5 separate regions of the Homo sapiens genome follow, and regions 1, 3, 4 and 5 are each linked to region 2. The links are contacts of gene promoters, found by promoter capture Hi-C in human tissues and cell types (Jung and others, 2019). All regions are on one chromosome and are shown on one strand. The core of a region is centred on a gene start or on the middle of the fragment in contact, and the rest is flanking DNA. Distances in the headings are between cores, read along the strand shown. Region 1 has its middle 29 kb from the start of BRD3. Region 2 holds the start of SARDH (sarcosine dehydrogenase). Region 3 holds the start of CACFD1 (calcium channel flower domain containing 1). Region 4 holds the start of LOC100130548 (a long non-coding RNA gene). Region 5 overlaps SURF4 (surfeit 4).

Region 1 (2,870 bases), core at 88-2,587, 360 kb after region 2:
TGTTTGTGTTTCCCCAAAATTCATAGGTTGAAACCCAATCCCCAAGACGATGGCATTAAGAAGTGGGGCCGGCTGGGTGCAGTGGCTCACGCCTGTATTCCCAGCACTTTGGGAGGCCAAGGTGGGCAGGTCACGAAGTCAGGAGTTCGAGACCAGCCTGGCCAATATGCTGAAACCCCATCTCTACTAAAAATACAAAAATTAGCCAAGCGTGGTGGTGCGCCCCTGTAATCCCAGCTGCCTGTGAGGCTGAAGAAGAAGAATTGCGTGAGCCTGGGAGGTGGAGGTTGCAGTGAGCCAAGATCGTGCCATCGCAATCCAGCCTGGGTGACAGAGAGAGAGTCCATCCATACAAAAAAAAAAGTAGGGCCTTTGGGGGTGATCAGATCGTAAGGACTCTGCCCTCTTAAAGGGGATTAATGCCCTTGTAAGAGAGGCATGAGAGAGCTTGTTCACCCCTTTCACCATGTGAGAGCACAAAGAAGGTGCCATCTGAGGAATGGACACTTAGCAGATCCTCAGTTAGCTGGTGCCTTGATCTTGGACTACCCAGCCTCCAGAACTGTGAGCAATCAGTTTCTGTTGTTTATAAAGTACCCAGTCTAAGATATTTTGTAATAGCAGTGCGAACTGACCATGGCAGCAAATTAAAACCACAATGAGATATCACTTCACACGTTAGGATGGCTGTAACCAAAAGACAAGGGATAAATGTGAGCAAGGCTGTGGTGAAAGGTACATTTGTACACTGTTGATGGGTATGTAGATCGGTACCATCATTATGGAAAACAGTATGGAGGCCCTTCAAAAAACTAAAGGTAGAACCACCATATGATCCAGCAATCTCTCTTCTGGGAATATAGCCAAAGGAGATGAAATATAAGCACTTCATAGAGATACCCGCACTCCCATGTTCAATGCGGCACTATTCGCAATAGCCAAGGCATGGAATCCACCTAAGTGTCCACTGACAGAGGCCTAGATAAGGAAACTGTGGTCTACACATGCAATGGAATATTTCCAGCTCTTCAAAAGGAGATTCTGGCTGGGCACGGTGGCTCACACCTGTAATCCCAGCACTTTGGGAAGCCAAGGCGGGCAGATCACCTGAGGCCAGGAGTTCAAGACCAGCCTGGCCAACATGGAGAAACCCTGTCTCCACTAAAAATACAAAAAATTAGCCAGGCGTGGTTGCGGATGCCTGTAATCCCACCTACTCAGGAGGCTGAGGCAGGAGAATCGCTTGAATCCAGGAGGCAGAGGCTGCAGTGAGCCAAGATCATGCCATTGCACTCTAGCCTGGGCAACAAGAGTGAAACTCTGACTCAAAAAAAAAGGAGATCCTGCCTATGCGACAACATAGATGAACCTGAAGACATTATGCTAAATGAAATAAGCCAAACATAGAAGGAAAAGTACTGCATGATCTCATGTATATATGAAATTTTTTTTTGCGGGTGGGGGTGGGGATGGAGCCTCACTCTGTTGCCCAGGTTGGAGTGCAGTGCAGTGGTGGTATCTTTGCTCACTGCAACCTCCACCTCCCTTCCTGGGTTCAAGTGACTCTCCTGCCTCAGCCTCTTGAGTAGCTGGGATTACAGGTGCGTGCCACCACGCCTGGCTAATTTTTGTATTTTACTAGAGACAGTGTTTCACCACGTTGGCCAGCCTGGTCTTGAACTCCTGACCTCAAGTGATCCACCCGCCTCGGCCTTCCGAAGTGTTGGGATTACAGGCATGAGCCACAGCACCTGGCCAAAATATTTTTTAAAAGTGTCAAATACGGCCGGGCACGGTGGTTCACGCCTGTAATCCCAGCATTTTGGGAGGCCGAGGCAGGCGGATCACGAGATCAGGAGATCAAGACCATCCTGGCTAACAGGTGAAACGGCATCTCCACTAAAAATTCAAAAAAAAAAATTAGCTGGGCATGGTGGCGGGAGCCTGTAGTCCCAGCTACTCGGGAGGCTGAGGCAGGAGGATGGGGTGAACCTGGGAGGCAGTGGTTGCAGTGAGCCGAGATCGAGCCACTGCACTCTAGACTGGGCAACAGAGCGAGACTCCATCTCAAAAAAAAAAAAAAAAGGTGTCAAATACATAGAAACAGTAGAACAGTGGTTACAGGGGCTTGCAGGTGGTGGAGATTGAGATGGAGGCCAAAGGGTACAAAGTTAAAGTTACACAGGATGAATGAGTCTAAAGATCTAAAGTCCAGCGTGAGGACTATAGTCATCAATAATAATGTATTGTATACCGAAAACTTACTGAGAGTAGATTTTAGGGGCTCTCAGCACGCACACAGAGGGGGCAACTATGTGAGACGATGGACATGCTCATTTGTTTGACTGTTGTAAGCATTTCACAACGTTACATGGTGCACATTATTATTATGATTACAAACAGGGTCGCACTTTGTTACCCAGACTGGAGTGCAGCGGTGCCATTATAGCTCACTGTAGCCTCAAACTCCTGGGCTCAAGAAATCCTCCCGTCTCAGCTTCCCAAAGCTCTAAGATTACAGATGTAAGTCACTGTGCCCAGCCTGCGCTTTAAATAGTCTATATTTAAGTATTAATTATGGCCGGGTGCGGTGGCTCACGCCTGTAATCCCAACACTTTGGGAGGACATGGTGGGTGGATCGCTTGAGGTCAAGAGTTTGAGACCAGCTTGGTCAACATGGCGAAACCCCCATCTCTACTAAAAATACAAAATTAGTCGGGCATGGTGGCACATGCCTATAATCCCAGCTACTCGGGTGGCTGAGGCAGGAGAATCACTTGAACCTGGGAGGCGGAGGTTACAGTGAGCTGAAATCATGCCATTGCATTCCAGCCTGGGTGACAAGAGCGAGACTCTGTCTCAAAAAAAA
Region 2 (3,141 bases), core at 396-2,895:
AACTAAGAAGTTAAGAACGGAGGTCTCACAACAGCCCTCAATGGAAGGGTGGGGTGGTGTCCTGCCCAGTGTGGACCTCCACTGCCCTTTTCTGGGATCTGCAGGAAAAGTGAAAGGGATGTGGCTGTGATCCAAGATGTGAAGTGCTGTGCCACCTACGTCAGTATGAATGACTGATATAATTATCTAAGAAAGTCAGCATCCTTTTTCAAGAGTGGACCATAGCTATGCACGTTCGTTCACTCTCATTGAACACCTATAGACACATGATAATGTCTCTACTTCACAGCGGGGGAGTCTGACACACGGAGAGGCTCCCTGAGGTGACCAGGGTCATAGGGCCTCCATGTGGCAGTGCCAGGGACTCTCTCCTGCCCCCTCTTCTGACCATCCCAGGGGGACTCAGGACCCACTGCCACACTCTGTCCCACCTGAACTGTGGGCACTGCCCAAGCCCTGACGAAGCCCAGAACCCTGTCCTAGGCACAGTGGGGGATGTGAGGGGGATCCCAGCTCTCAGGCTGGTCAGGGCTGCCCCCCATCTCCTGCCCCAGTGCCCCATCCCAAGGGAGGGAGCAGGGAGTCTGATTGCAGCGGCGTAGGGGAGTGAGGAGGTGTTGGAGCTTGTCCTCAGCCTCTCAGCCCTCAGTGTGTCAGCCCGCCTGGCTCCTGCCTGCAGAGGTGGCCCCGGACAAGGAGGCATGCCTCCTGCATGTGTCTGTACATACCTTCAGTCCTTGAAGGTCCACAGTCTTCCAGGAGCCCCCAAAAGTGGTGCCCCACCAGGGGAAAGCCAGCTTGAGTGGCACCGAGGAAGGCCCTCCAAGGCTGAACACCCCCACCCCACCACCCACCACCCACCACGGTGCCGCATGGCACAGCACACCTGGTCAGCTGTGGGCAAAAGCCTCCCTCCTCCTTCCGACTGTGCCCAAAAAGCGACAGCTGCTGGCGCCGGAGGCTGCCACGTGCCCCTTCACCACCTGCCTGGTCAGTCAGGGCTCTTCTGACTGTCAGACTGGGGGCTGGCAGCGGCCCCAGCGGGGACAGCCCAGAGCCCCTCCTGCCTGCCACCTCCCTGGAAACAGCTGCCTCCACATTAACCCACTCTCTTGCCCCCTCCAACTCTGTCTCGTACCTGAGTCAGCTTCCCAGGAGTGAGGGCTGAGGACAGCCCTGGGCTTGGGATCAGACAGATGGGTGGGGGTTTTGTCACAGGACTGGGGCCTCGAGCAACAACTTAACCTCACTGCAAAGCAGAGGACCCAGGAACGCCCTCCTCCTCCCAGGCTCAGGGGGTGGTGGGGGTCAAGCGAGGAGAGCGCCTGGCACCTTCGCCTGGTGAGGGTAGGCAGACTTGTGGGGAGGAGCGGCAGGGGGCGGGGAGGCAGCTGCCCATATGGTGAACCCTGGTCCTGCTCATGCAGCTGGATGGTCCCTGCAGCCAGAGGCAGAGGGAGATCCCAGCCAGATCTGACCAGGCCCAGCCCCGCCCACATAGGGGAGGCCCCAGCCTCGTCCCTCCCTGGGGGTGTACCTCCAAGTACCTCTTGTCAGCTGCAGTGCCCCTCGGCCCTAAGAGTGCTTGGCCCAGCAGAGGTGCCTTCACCTTCTTGCTTCCCAAGCAGTGGCCTGGCCGGAACTCCAGGCCTCCCCCGCCCCCCACCCTCGCTGCCAGCCCCATGTCTCCGCCCAGGATCTGGGCGGAGCGTACCGCCCACCACTGCGGCTTCTAGGCCAGCTTAGTTGGGGCTTCTAGGCCAGCCCTGTGGGCAGCTCCCTCTGAGGGCGGCAGAGCAGGGTTGTGAACCCCATGCCCCATTACCCGTAGGCGACCTGGCAGTCACCCTTCCGCTCCAACCCTCATTTCCTCGTCTCTGAAACAGGCGCCTCAGGGTTGCTGCAGTAGACCCAGGCACCACCTGCCTGCTGGAGCCGCCCGAGCTCCCCGCGCCCAGAAGGAGCTATGCACAGGCAGGGTGGGCAGGAAAGGTGGGGTCAGCAGCAGCTTGGGCCAGGGGCCCGTCCACTGCAGGGAGGCTCCTTTGGTGAGGTCATCTCAGCACATGCCCCAGTTTGCTCACCCCCAGGGACAGGATGCTCACTGCCTTCAGAGGCGAGTGAGAAGGCCTGGGTCAGCTTCCCAGGGACAGGGTCTCCTGGTCTGTCTGCGTCCTGCTTTCCCGAGCTCCCAGACCCCTCTGGTGTTTGGGGAGATGCCCCCAAGCCACTGGCTACTGCACAGCACGTAGCCCCCAGGGCAGGGATTCCAGCCTCCATTGACTGTTGGGGACAGCAGTGCCCAGGGAGGGGGCCACACAGCAAGCTGGTGGAGGAGGCAGACCGGATGCTGCAGCCTGACTCTGGGCTGGGGCAAGTTACCCCTTCCCAGACAGAAGTAGACACCCAGAGGAGGGGTGTGGAGGAAACCCAGAAAGAATACACCTCTGGATGCCCAAAGAATCAGAACAGGTGCTGATGGAAAGTCACATCTCCTCCTCGCGCTGGATCAAAGACGGGGCATTTCAATGGCAGTCTGTTAATATTGTAATGATGCCAGCTGCCAATACCGGAAGCGATCGTATAGTAAACTGCTGTAATTAATACCAATCAAATCATTGTGTTCTTATTCACACCGAGGATGTCCGACTGTCTTGTTGCCAGCTTGTCTATCCTCTACATTTACTGAATGCCCAATGTGTACAAAGCACTGCTGGGAAACCTATAGTGACATCTAAGACCCAGCCCCTGCCCTCGAGGGGCTCAGGGTCCACGAAGCAGACAGATCCAGGGAGAGACACGACACCACAAGGCTGGCTTCCTTCCAGCAGGGAATCCAGGAGGACCTCTTAGAGGAGGGGGCCTGGGCTCTGGGCCTGACCACGTGCTGACACCATTCTCAGTCCCTGCCTCAAAGGCAAAGGGCCCACTGGCTTAGGCCCCTGGCTGCCCAGTGGAAAGCTGGCCCCGCCAGTTTGAGGCTTACCTGGGGTGGTGTGGGGGTCCTGGGGCAGAGGACCTCCTCTTTGGATGGTGTGGCTTGCCCAGTGGCCTGAGCTAGGGCTGTGCTCACCCAACAGGGTGACGAATGAGCTCAAGAGGGCAAGGAAGGAGTGTGGCCCAAGTTCTCCCAGGAGTCCT
Region 3 (3,019 bases), core at 347-2,846, 280 kb before region 2:
CTTGTCTCTACTAAAAATAGAAAAAGTAGCCAGGCATGGTGGCGTGTGCCTGTAATCCCAGCTACTTGGGAGGCTGAGGCACAAGAATCACTTGAACCCGGGAGGTGGAGGTTGCACTAAGCCCAGATCGCACCACTGCACTCCAGCCTGGGCAACAGAGTGAGACTCTGTCTCAAAAAAAAAAAAAAAAAAAAAGCGAAATGGTAAAGAATGGTAAAGACCTTTCTGATGTAGACTGACAGCTAACCCAAGACTGAAGCATAATTTTACAGTCTGATATAACTTGGACAGAATAGCACCCTGCACCCTCCCCGAGGTTTCAAGTGTCCTGGGAGAACTGTGTTCTGCAGGGTATCAGCTTCCCCAGAGGAGGCAGCCTGGCCCCGCTCTGGCACCCTGACTGTGTGTCCTTGGGGAAGTGATGTAACGTCCCTGGACCTCGGTTTTCTGGGTAGAGTAATGGCGTATTCCTAGTAGGGCTTTGTAAGCATTAAATGTGATCCGGAATCTGTGAGCCCTTGCACACGAAGGCTTCCGTGAGTGCTAATTATTACTTGTGGCCGGTCCTTCTGGGCTGCCCCTTTTCTCTCAGATCCGGGACACCCACAGCTTGAGGACCACAGCGTTCCATGGGCAGCAGGTGCTCTACTGGGAGTCAGAGAGCAGCCAGGCTGAGATGGAGTTCAGCGAGGGCTTCCTGAAGGCTCAGGCCAGCCTGCGGGGCCAGTACTGGACCCTCCAATCATGGGTACCGGAGATGCAGGACCCTCAGTCCTGGAAGGGAAAGGAAGGAACCTGAGGGTCATTGAACATTTGTTCCGTGTCTGGCCAGCCCTGGAGGGTTGACCCCTGGTCTCAGTGCTTTCCAATTCGAACTTTTTCCAATCTTAGGTATCTACTTTAGAGTCTTCTCCAATGTCCAAAAGGCTAGGGGGTTGGAGGTGGGGACTCTGGAAAAGCAGCCCCCATTTCCTCGGGTACCAATAAATAAAACATGCAGGCTGACCGGCGTTTTTTTCTTATAAGCTGTCCAGACCTGGCTTGAAAACCCATCCCATGGCAAGGCAGGGATTCGCTGGCCGCGGTTGGCTCTATCTTGATCTGAGCAAGCCGCTGGACGTCCCTAGTTATCTTCTTCCTATCCAGGAAGAAAATCCAATCAGGATTCCACTCCGAGGATGGCGCATTAGCCAGCTCCCTGCGAAGCCCCACCCGTGTGTCCTGGTGTGAGGCTCTGACCGCTAAGGTGTCTGCGCGCCTCCAGGCCCCGCCCCCTATGCTAATAAGCGCCCGCCTCCTTTGGGAGCAAGTCGCCGCAAACTGCGAGCCCCCGCCCCCTACGCTAATGACGCCCGCCCCCCTCGGGCACACCTCTCCGATGCCTGCGAGCCCCGCCCCGTATGCTAACGAGCTCCCCACCCCCAGCTCCTCGCCGCAGCCTGCGGGTCCCGCCCCCTACAATAATGAGCACCTACCTCCCCTCAAACGCCCCTAGTCGCGGCATGAGGGTCCCGCTCACTATGTTAATGAGCACCCGCCTCCCTTCGGGCGCGCCTCGCCGCAGCCTGAAAGCCCCGCCCCCTATGCTAATATGCTCCCTCTCCCACAAGGCAGCGCGCCGGCTCGGACGCGGCCGGCTACCGAGCCCTTTGTGAGGGCTGTGAGCTGCGCCTGACGGTGGCACCATGAGCAGCTCAGGTGGGGCGCCCGGGGCGTCCGCCAGCTCTGCGCCGCCCGCGCAGGAAGAGGGCATGACGTGGTGGTACCGCTGGCTGTGTCGCCTGTCTGGGGTGCTGGGGGCAGTCTGTGAGTATCCAGTCGGGGAGAGGGGCCGGCCCCGCCGCGCATGCGCTCCTCGCCCTGCCCTGCCCCGCCCCGCCCCGGCGGCCCCAGGGGAAAGGACCCGCTGGGGGTCGGGGGTCTGCCGGGCGCCTCCCGGGGCGGAGGAATGGCGGGGCCGCCGGGAGCCGGCGTCCTGGGGTTGCCATGGTTACCCGCTCGGGCCTGGGCGCCTTGGTACCCCGGGCTGGGCTGGGCTGGCGCTTCTGGGAACATTCCCGGAGGGACCAGAAACCCCAGGGCGGGGGGGCGGCGGGGGCGGGGGTGGGGCACCGGCCTGGGGCACGTGACTGAGCCCTCCCCCCGCTCCCCAGGGGCTTTTGTGAGACTTTCTCGGTGATGCTCACGGGGCGCATGCCCACCTGGCCCGTACTAAAGCGTCAACTGTTGACTTGGGCGTAGGTGACGGCAGCCACATTGCTAACCTTTGGGCAAGGATTGTTTGTAAGGGAGGCGGGTGCACGGCTGGCTAGATTTCTGGCAGGAAGCCACTGGGCGGAAGTTTGCTGAGGGTCAGGTGGTGTCAGGGCACAGGTGGCCCCTGGGGCCGCGGGGCAGTGAGCTGAGGGCCCGGCCTCTCCCTGGGTCCTCTGTCCGCTCTCATATCTCCCCCGTTGCTGCTGCCTTAGCCGCCTGTCACCGGCCTTCCTCCCCTTCTCCGCACGCATCCCAGTCACAGACCCTGACCTTAGGCTGCCAGGGAAGCTAGGCTCTTAAGCACAGCCAGAAAAGGACAAAGAGGGAGGCAGGTCAGCTCCAGGAGTGAATGGAAGCCGTACAGCTGGCCTTCCAGGGAAAGACAAGTCTGTCTGAGTGATACCCTTTCCTTTCCTGTCTGCCCTCAATCTTGTGGATTACTGGAGTGGGCAAGGTCTTAGAGAATGTCTGTCGAGGATGTCTGCAGGTTTTAAACAGTGCCTGCCTGGCAGAGAGGGCTAGCTCTGGGCCTGGGCAGGGCAGGCCCCATCAGCAATCCTGCCAGAAGGACCACCTTTTCAGGGTCACCTTGGGTTCCACAGCCTTTCCAGGTGGGTAGAGGGTGGAGGGAGGTTGAGGCAGGAGGGTGCTGGGCTAGGAGTGTGCTGCCCTCGCTAGGCATGCCCTTATCCAGAGGCAACGGATACGGTAGGGCAGGCCCTACCCCCAAATCACAAAAAGGCCCCGAGTTTGTGTCACTGCT
Region 4 (2,884 bases), core at 310-2,809, 320 kb after region 2:
GGTGGACATCCTCCGGCAGCTCACTCACTTTCTGTCACAGCAGCGGCTTGGAGAGGCCCTGGCTGCTTCTACGCTCCCTGAGAAAGCGCGACGTCCCATTTCCGGGCCCAACCAGGCGACAGCTGCAGAGGAGGAAGCACAACAGAGAGGAAGGCCAGTCACCCCGGGGACCCCCACCTCTCCCAGCCTCGGCGGGCTCCTGAGGGCACCTGTCGGGCCTCAGCAGGGCCTGCTCCACTCACTCACCCCCATTGCCCAGCCACCCAGGTGAGAGGCTGTCGGGAAAGCTGCTCAGGCGAAGCGCGACCAGCTCAGAACGACTCTCCAACCACTGCTCTCAGGCACGGGAGGGAAGGCCTGGGCGGTGGAGGGAGCTCAGGCACATGCCACTTGCTCCCAGGTGGGGGCTTGGGGAACACACTGGGAGGCAGGTGTGCCAAGGGACTCAGCCACTGGCAGCCTTCTGCCCACCAACCACCCACTCGTGGGGTCGACTCGTTGCTACTGGGCTCTGACAGCTTGGCCACAACAATGTACTGAAGAGTGACCCATGCGTGGACAGCCACGGTGCGGGCCCAACACAGCCAGGGGAAGTGGGGCCGGCACAACACGGACGTTTGCAGACCCAAACACGGTGCGGGGAGGTGGTGCCCTTGAGCGAGGCCAAGCAGTGAGGTTCTACCGTAACCAGGAGAACGGGCCCAGGTTTGTGATGGCGGCGTGGTTGTGACCCGGCCTGGCTCTCGGCCAATCAGAGAGGCGGGAGCGGCGGCTCAGACCCTGCCGACCTCCACACCCCAGCTGACCACAGGGAGCTCTGCACACACGAGATGCTGGGGCTTCCCTGGCCCCGACTGGCTAGCCACAGGCAGGGCTGGCAGGAGGAGGCCACCGCCACCCTGCGTGTCCCAGGAGGGCACGGACAGTTGAGAACGCCCATAGGAACGCTGCACAGTGGAGAACGCATGCAGGCCTCCAACCATGGCCAGGGCCCTGCGGCGTGGCCCCGTGTCTACCTGTAAAGGTGTGGGGCAGACCCGAGGAGCTCTAACCCAGCGCCTGGGACTTCAACTTCAGCCTCGTACCTTGCTGCCACTTGGGCCTTTCCTGCAGTCGTGTAACTGACAGTTAGACAGGTCACGGCTGGAGGCTCCCCTCGGAGCACAGGCAGCAGCTCTGCCATGGGAGGAGCCGGCTCCGGCCCCAGAACCGGCCACTTGTAGACGCTCGGGGCAGACAGTCAAGACTAGGGGAAGTTTGTGAGCTGGGTGACATCTGGTTGGTCCCCTGAAATCTGCCTCGGTGGGCAGTTACACCACAGCCATGGGCAAATGCTGCAAACCAGGACCCCCTCCCCAAGCTGGATGCTCAATGTCGTCAGCACCCTGCGTGTAACCTCACTTCCTCCCACCCCACCCCAGAGAGGAAAGGGCTTCAAACTACACGCAACACAGCTCACCCACCAAGCATGCCAGCACGAGAGAACGTGCCCCGTCTCTGGGGCGCCCACCTGTGCCAGGGCCTCATCCAGGGAAGCCCCTCACACCCACCCTCTTCTATGCCCTCCTGAGGTGAGCGGGTGCCTCTCCACCTCACCGACCCGGTGCTCACAGCCCCAGGCTGCAACCCTGGTGCGGAGGGCAGCCCCAGGCCAAAGCGTGGCAGCACTGCCCCTCGCCACCACCACTTGCAAGGATTTCCATGAAGCCCTCCCAGCAGGGCTCCCTGCTCTGCCCCGCAAGGACCGCCTAGCCCGCACCGCAGGGTGATCCTGTTAAAACCAAGTCGGATCAAGTCACCGGTCTGCTCAAAACCTCCCAGGGGCTCCACGTGACTCAGAGTGAAAGCGAGTCCTGCCCCACCCTGGTTGGTGGGGCCTGGGGTGACCGAGTCCTGAGACCTGTGTCCTGTCTCCTGTGACTTGCGGCCCTCCCTCAAGGCCTGGACAGCAGCAGGCTCCTGCCCTTCCAAGGCCTCCAGGTAGCTCCCAGAACACCCTTCCTGCTGGGCCCCCAGGCAGCACAGACACTGGGGCCAGCCACACGGCCTGGTCCTTCCACTTCCCCACGAGGCTCCTGAGGGTGGAGGAGTCAGGCACAGAGAGAGCTCACGCCAGTTATGGGCACCAAGCACCACACGCAGCTCCGCTGAGACTGCCGGGCAGCACCCTGACAGAAGGCCCAGGCTGTGCTGCTGCTGCCTCCCAGGGCCCAGATGTCAGCTCCCAGGTGTCGGTCAGGTGGGGACATTCCCAGTATCCACTGCTGCTGCACAGGCCCAGAGCCAGGAAATGGGGCTGAAACTGACCTTTGGGGATGTGGGGGTGGTCAGGGCACAAAGGAAGGCTCCCAGGCTGCAGGCCAGCTTCCTCCAAGCATGAGGATGGACGGTCACAGCTCAACATGGGGGCCTGCTTATGCTGCCGTCAGGATCCCACGCCTGGCCAGATCAGGCCCTCTAAGCCACCCACTTCCAACCACCTGACCACTGTTTCAAACCGGAGACTGAGAAGGAGCCCAGCTCCAGCCATGGACACCGGAGTGCATGCCTCGTCCTGGGTGGGGAGGGCAGCCCCGCCCGGCCATGGACTGTGAGCTTGAGCAAGGCAGAAGGAGGGGCGCCCCAGGCTCTGCTTGGCACCAGCCCACGAGCCACGGCAGAGCCGTCCAAGGCCCAGCCCAGAAGCCCTCTTGCTGCTGCCAGGGAAATCCCGGCCAATGTGGTTAAAGCTCTGGGGCTGCACCTGGTGCCAGCATGTGCTCACTGAATGCCAGTGGTCACTACAGGCCCTGAGGGTGCAGTTTGCCTCCAGCTCCGCTACCTGGCAGAAACACACCAACCCCAACAAGACCTGGAAGGCTGAGGGGTGCAGTATAAAAAGCCC
Region 5 (3,158 bases), core at 470-2,969, 370 kb before region 2:
CCCTGTGATCTCATCCTGCCCTGGTACCATCCAGCCAGCACACCGTGTGACCTGGACACGCCCAGTTACTTTTTTGAGAGTGTCTCTACTATCCTGCAGTAGAGTGAGGCCACCTGAACTAATGGTTGGTAAGATGCTTTCCAACTTTACTAGGAGGAAGACCTTGTTTCACTTTTTATTTTTAAAAAGGCCCCAAATACTCCCCTGTGAATTTTAGGGCCAATGCAGAGAACCAGCACAAGATGCCCATGTGCACAGTGTGACGCAACCTGCATCACACTGGGTGGTGGGAAAGGTGACGCCACACACCCTCCCCAGGTTCTGCCTCATGGCCCCGTTGCTCTCTAAATGCCCAGCAACAGTGTAATCACCCATATTCCATGGAAGAGAGAAAGCACACCACCGTGGCACACGATGTGCCACTGCTCTCAAGGAATGGCCTCACATCGTGGCCCAGCTGGGAAGCCCCAGCAAGGACACAAGCCTTTATCTCATCTGAACCTGGGGAAAAGCAACCACTGGGAAGGAAGAGCTCAACAGGAGGCTGTCCAGACCTCTGAGATGAGACGGAGCCGTGGTGGGACTCCCAGGGCAGGGTGTGGGTGTGGGGCGTGGACCCCAACAGCAGCAGAGAGGTAGACTGCAATCCATACCCAAGACAGACACCAGAGGTGTTCTGACTTGCTTCTAAAATGAGAGCTGTGAGCCACTCACTGGCCTGAGATGAGCAAACCAGCCCAGCCATGGGCTGCGGTCTAAGCCTCCCCCAGTTGCAGGACCTGCATTTAACATGCTCATCTACGTGCACAGCCCACGAGATTGAGGCAGTGTTTAAAAGTCTCTTTGAATGAGTCTGCGACTCTTAATTTGAGTGTCTGGGTCAAGAGGATTAAAGAGCAAAAAAGAGAGAGAAGGTGGGACAGGCAATTCACACCTCCTTCCCTGCGCAAACATGGTGACGAAACAGACACAGCTCTTGGCTTTGGGGAAAAATATGCAAAAATCTAGGTACTGCCTTCTGAACTGAGCACACCTACTGCTTGGCTGTCCTGGTTTTCAAAGGCAAGCCTGGTCCACACTGAAGGCTGAAGTCAGGCTGATGCAGTCTCCTCTAAACTGGCCACCATTTAATGAGCATCTGTTTGGACTGAACACTGAAAAAGCCACGTTTAAAGACAAGGCCCAACATTAACCTTATTTCCTACATGCATGTTGGTCACAACTACTTCAACTTGGCCACTGGAACCATGTCATGCCACTCTAGAACACGTCCCAGAGCCAGTGTCCCCTCAGCACAGCAGAGAAGAGCCCTCAACACAGGCAGGACACACAGCACCCCAGGACAGACAAGAGCAGCCGCACTGCAGGCACTAAGGCCATTGCTGGTAGCCAGCACACAGGTGACCTGTGTAAACACGGCGAGCACATAAAACTTGTGACAGTCCCCCTCCCCCCCATTAGAGAACTGCGACAGCAGAGCCAGAGGTGGCTGTTGACCTGGCAGGCTGCAGGAAGAAGATGACAGTTAGCTCACCTCTGTGGCCAAGCTTCTCATTAAGTCTCTCCGAGAACCGCGCCATCAAGCAGGATATGGTTCATAAGCAGTGACAGCATCTGAGGGGCTTAACAGGAAGACTGATATTTCTCTCAAAGGGGTGGTTATTTTAGACGACTGAAGGGGATTTTAGAAACGTAATTAATTATATCCACCCTGAGATGACTTCCTGGGCATCCAGTGATCACTGTCACAGCCACCTGCAGCTCCCACGCCACACAGAAAACTCCACTTTCTCTTCACACTCAGGACAGAAAGAAATTGAGGAAAGCAGCTTGCAAATTCGTGGTGAATGTGAACATCGACGAAAAAGGCAGGTCAGATTTCCTTGATCACCAAGGACTGGGGCTGCCTTGTTCAAAGCCCAACTCAGGTCCCACACATCCTAGAAACAAGCACCTGCGGCCCAGCGGCTTCCCTCACATCAGCCTGTCAGAGCTGGCTCGAGCTCACTGGCTCACTGCAGCTCCAGAACTTCCCCGAGCCCCGCTCCCATGCTGCTCTATAGGTTCACACTGCACCCTGCAGGGCCAGAAAGGATGTCGCCAGCCCAATGTGGGAGATGATGGCCTGGCTTTACTAAAAAACTGTGTGATCAAAATCCCAACTATAGGAAAGACGTAACTGAGAACGACTGGGCCCCATGTTCTGGGAGGAGCCCCGCTAACCACAACCTCCTCTGCTCCTCGCCCGCACTCCCCTGAAGAGTGAGTTTTAACCTCCCGTTAAGATCATCACACAAAGAAAAGTGAGTCAGCTCCTCTTTGCCTTCTCTCCCCACTCCTTCATGATATAGGGCAGGGTATGACAGAGCCTGCCACTGTCACCAGGACTTTGCCACACCAGTCACCAGCATGGTGTTCATCGGGACCCTCACAGTGCCTGTGCCACCTGCAAGTTCAGGGGTCCTCAGGCCTATCCTTGCTTCCCCAGCACTTCAACTAGGGCCGAGGCCAGCTCCTAGGGCCCAGGACTAGCTCTGCCACTCTTGAGGACAGGTTAAAAACACCAAAGGTCACACTGGAGAGGAAGGCCCCATGCAGCTTTTCTGTCACCTTGGTGATGAGCCACCAGGCAGAACCCATTAAGTGCTAATATTGCTGTTTATGGGTATAAACTGCTTAGAAGCTACATTTTACAGAGTGTCTAATAGGCAATGAGGAGCAGCTGCAGGCATGGACATTAGTTTGGATTGCTGAGTTCATTAGTTTCTGGACCCTTCCCATGGCTTCCAAATGCCAAGCTCCTGCATAGAGCACGTCTCAGCAGTTTCTACAGAGCATGGCTCCTGGGAGCAAGAGGACACTGTCCCTGGCTGCCAGAGCAAGCAGCTTGATGCCAGAGGCAGAGAGACAAGAGATGCAACTGTGGGGAGCCTGCCAGCAGAAACTAACCAGACTGCTCGTCCCCGTGGACCAGCCTCTGCAGGCCAGAAGGAAAGATCAGTCAACCAAGCAGTGAGGAACCCAGCCTTTGGGGTAACAGGATGCGGACTCAGTCTCCAGGCCACCACAAGCCAGTGCGGCCAGCCAACCTCCCTCTGCCCATCTGAAGATGGTGACGCTCTGGCCAACCTCCTACAGTCAAGAAGTTCACAAAAGGA

What was found. The method cuts DNA at HindIII sites, captures the fragments that hold promoters and counts their contacts. A contact is called where the count stands out against the background at its distance.
Region 1: a contact is called between a fragment that was not itself captured here and the fragment with the promoter of SARDH in region 2, in 2 of the 25 tissues and cell types used here (lymphoblastoid cells and spleen).
Region 3: a contact is called between the fragment with the promoter of CACFD1 here and the fragment with the promoter of SARDH in region 2, in 6 of the 25 tissues and cell types used here (IMR-90 fibroblasts, heart left ventricle, mesenchymal stem cells and 3 more).
Region 4: a contact is called between a fragment that was not itself captured here and the fragment with the promoter of SARDH in region 2, in 1 of the 25 tissues and cell types used here (H1 embryonic stem cells).
Region 5: a fragment that was not itself captured here is called in contact with the fragment with the promoter of SARDH in region 2 in 8 of the 25 tissues and cell types used here (adrenal gland, bladder, dorsolateral prefrontal cortex and 5 more).

What each region holds. Positions count from the first base shown.
Region 1 is chr9:134,095,787-134,098,656 of GRCh38, forward strand. No RefSeq gene overlaps it. Among named protein-coding and RNA genes, the nearest start is that of BRD3, 29 kb to the left of the region's middle. The HindIII fragment of the contact is 7,601 bases long and covers 1-2,870 here.
Region 2 is chr9:133,736,707-133,739,847 of GRCh38, forward strand. It overlaps SARDH (sarcosine dehydrogenase), which reads right to left and starts at 1,646. Exons shown (of 21, transcript NM_001134707.2): 1 at 1,548-1,646. The HindIII fragment of the contact is 19,009 bases long and covers 1-3,141 here.
Region 3 is chr9:133,458,382-133,461,400 of GRCh38, forward strand. CACFD1 (calcium channel flower domain containing 1) reads left to right here and starts at 1,597. Exons shown (of 5, transcript NM_017586.5): 1 at 1,597-1,806. The coding sequence starts at 1,686. ADAMTS13 (ADAM metallopeptidase with thrombospondin type 1 motif 13) reads left to right here. Exons shown (of 29, transcript NM_139027.6): 29 at 593-1,005. The coding sequence ends at 799. RefSeq lists silencers at 1,193-1,412, 1,423-1,522, 1,813-2,112. The HindIII fragment of the contact is 20,945 bases long and covers 1-3,019 here.
Region 4 is chr9:134,053,469-134,056,352 of GRCh38, forward strand. It overlaps BRD3 (bromodomain containing 3), which reads right to left. Exons shown (of 12, transcript NM_007371.4): 2 at 1-122. The coding sequence starts at 9. LOC100130548 (a long non-coding RNA gene) reads left to right here and starts at 822. Exons shown (of 3, transcript NR_135126.1): 1 at 822-1,024. The HindIII fragment of the contact is 7,733 bases long and covers 1-2,884 here.
Region 5 is chr9:133,369,342-133,372,499 of GRCh38, forward strand. The region is part of intron 1 of SURF4 (surfeit 4); the gene reads right to left. Among named protein-coding and RNA genes, the nearest start is that of SURF4, 5.1 kb to the right of the region's middle. The HindIII fragment of the contact is 5,558 bases long and covers 1-3,158 here.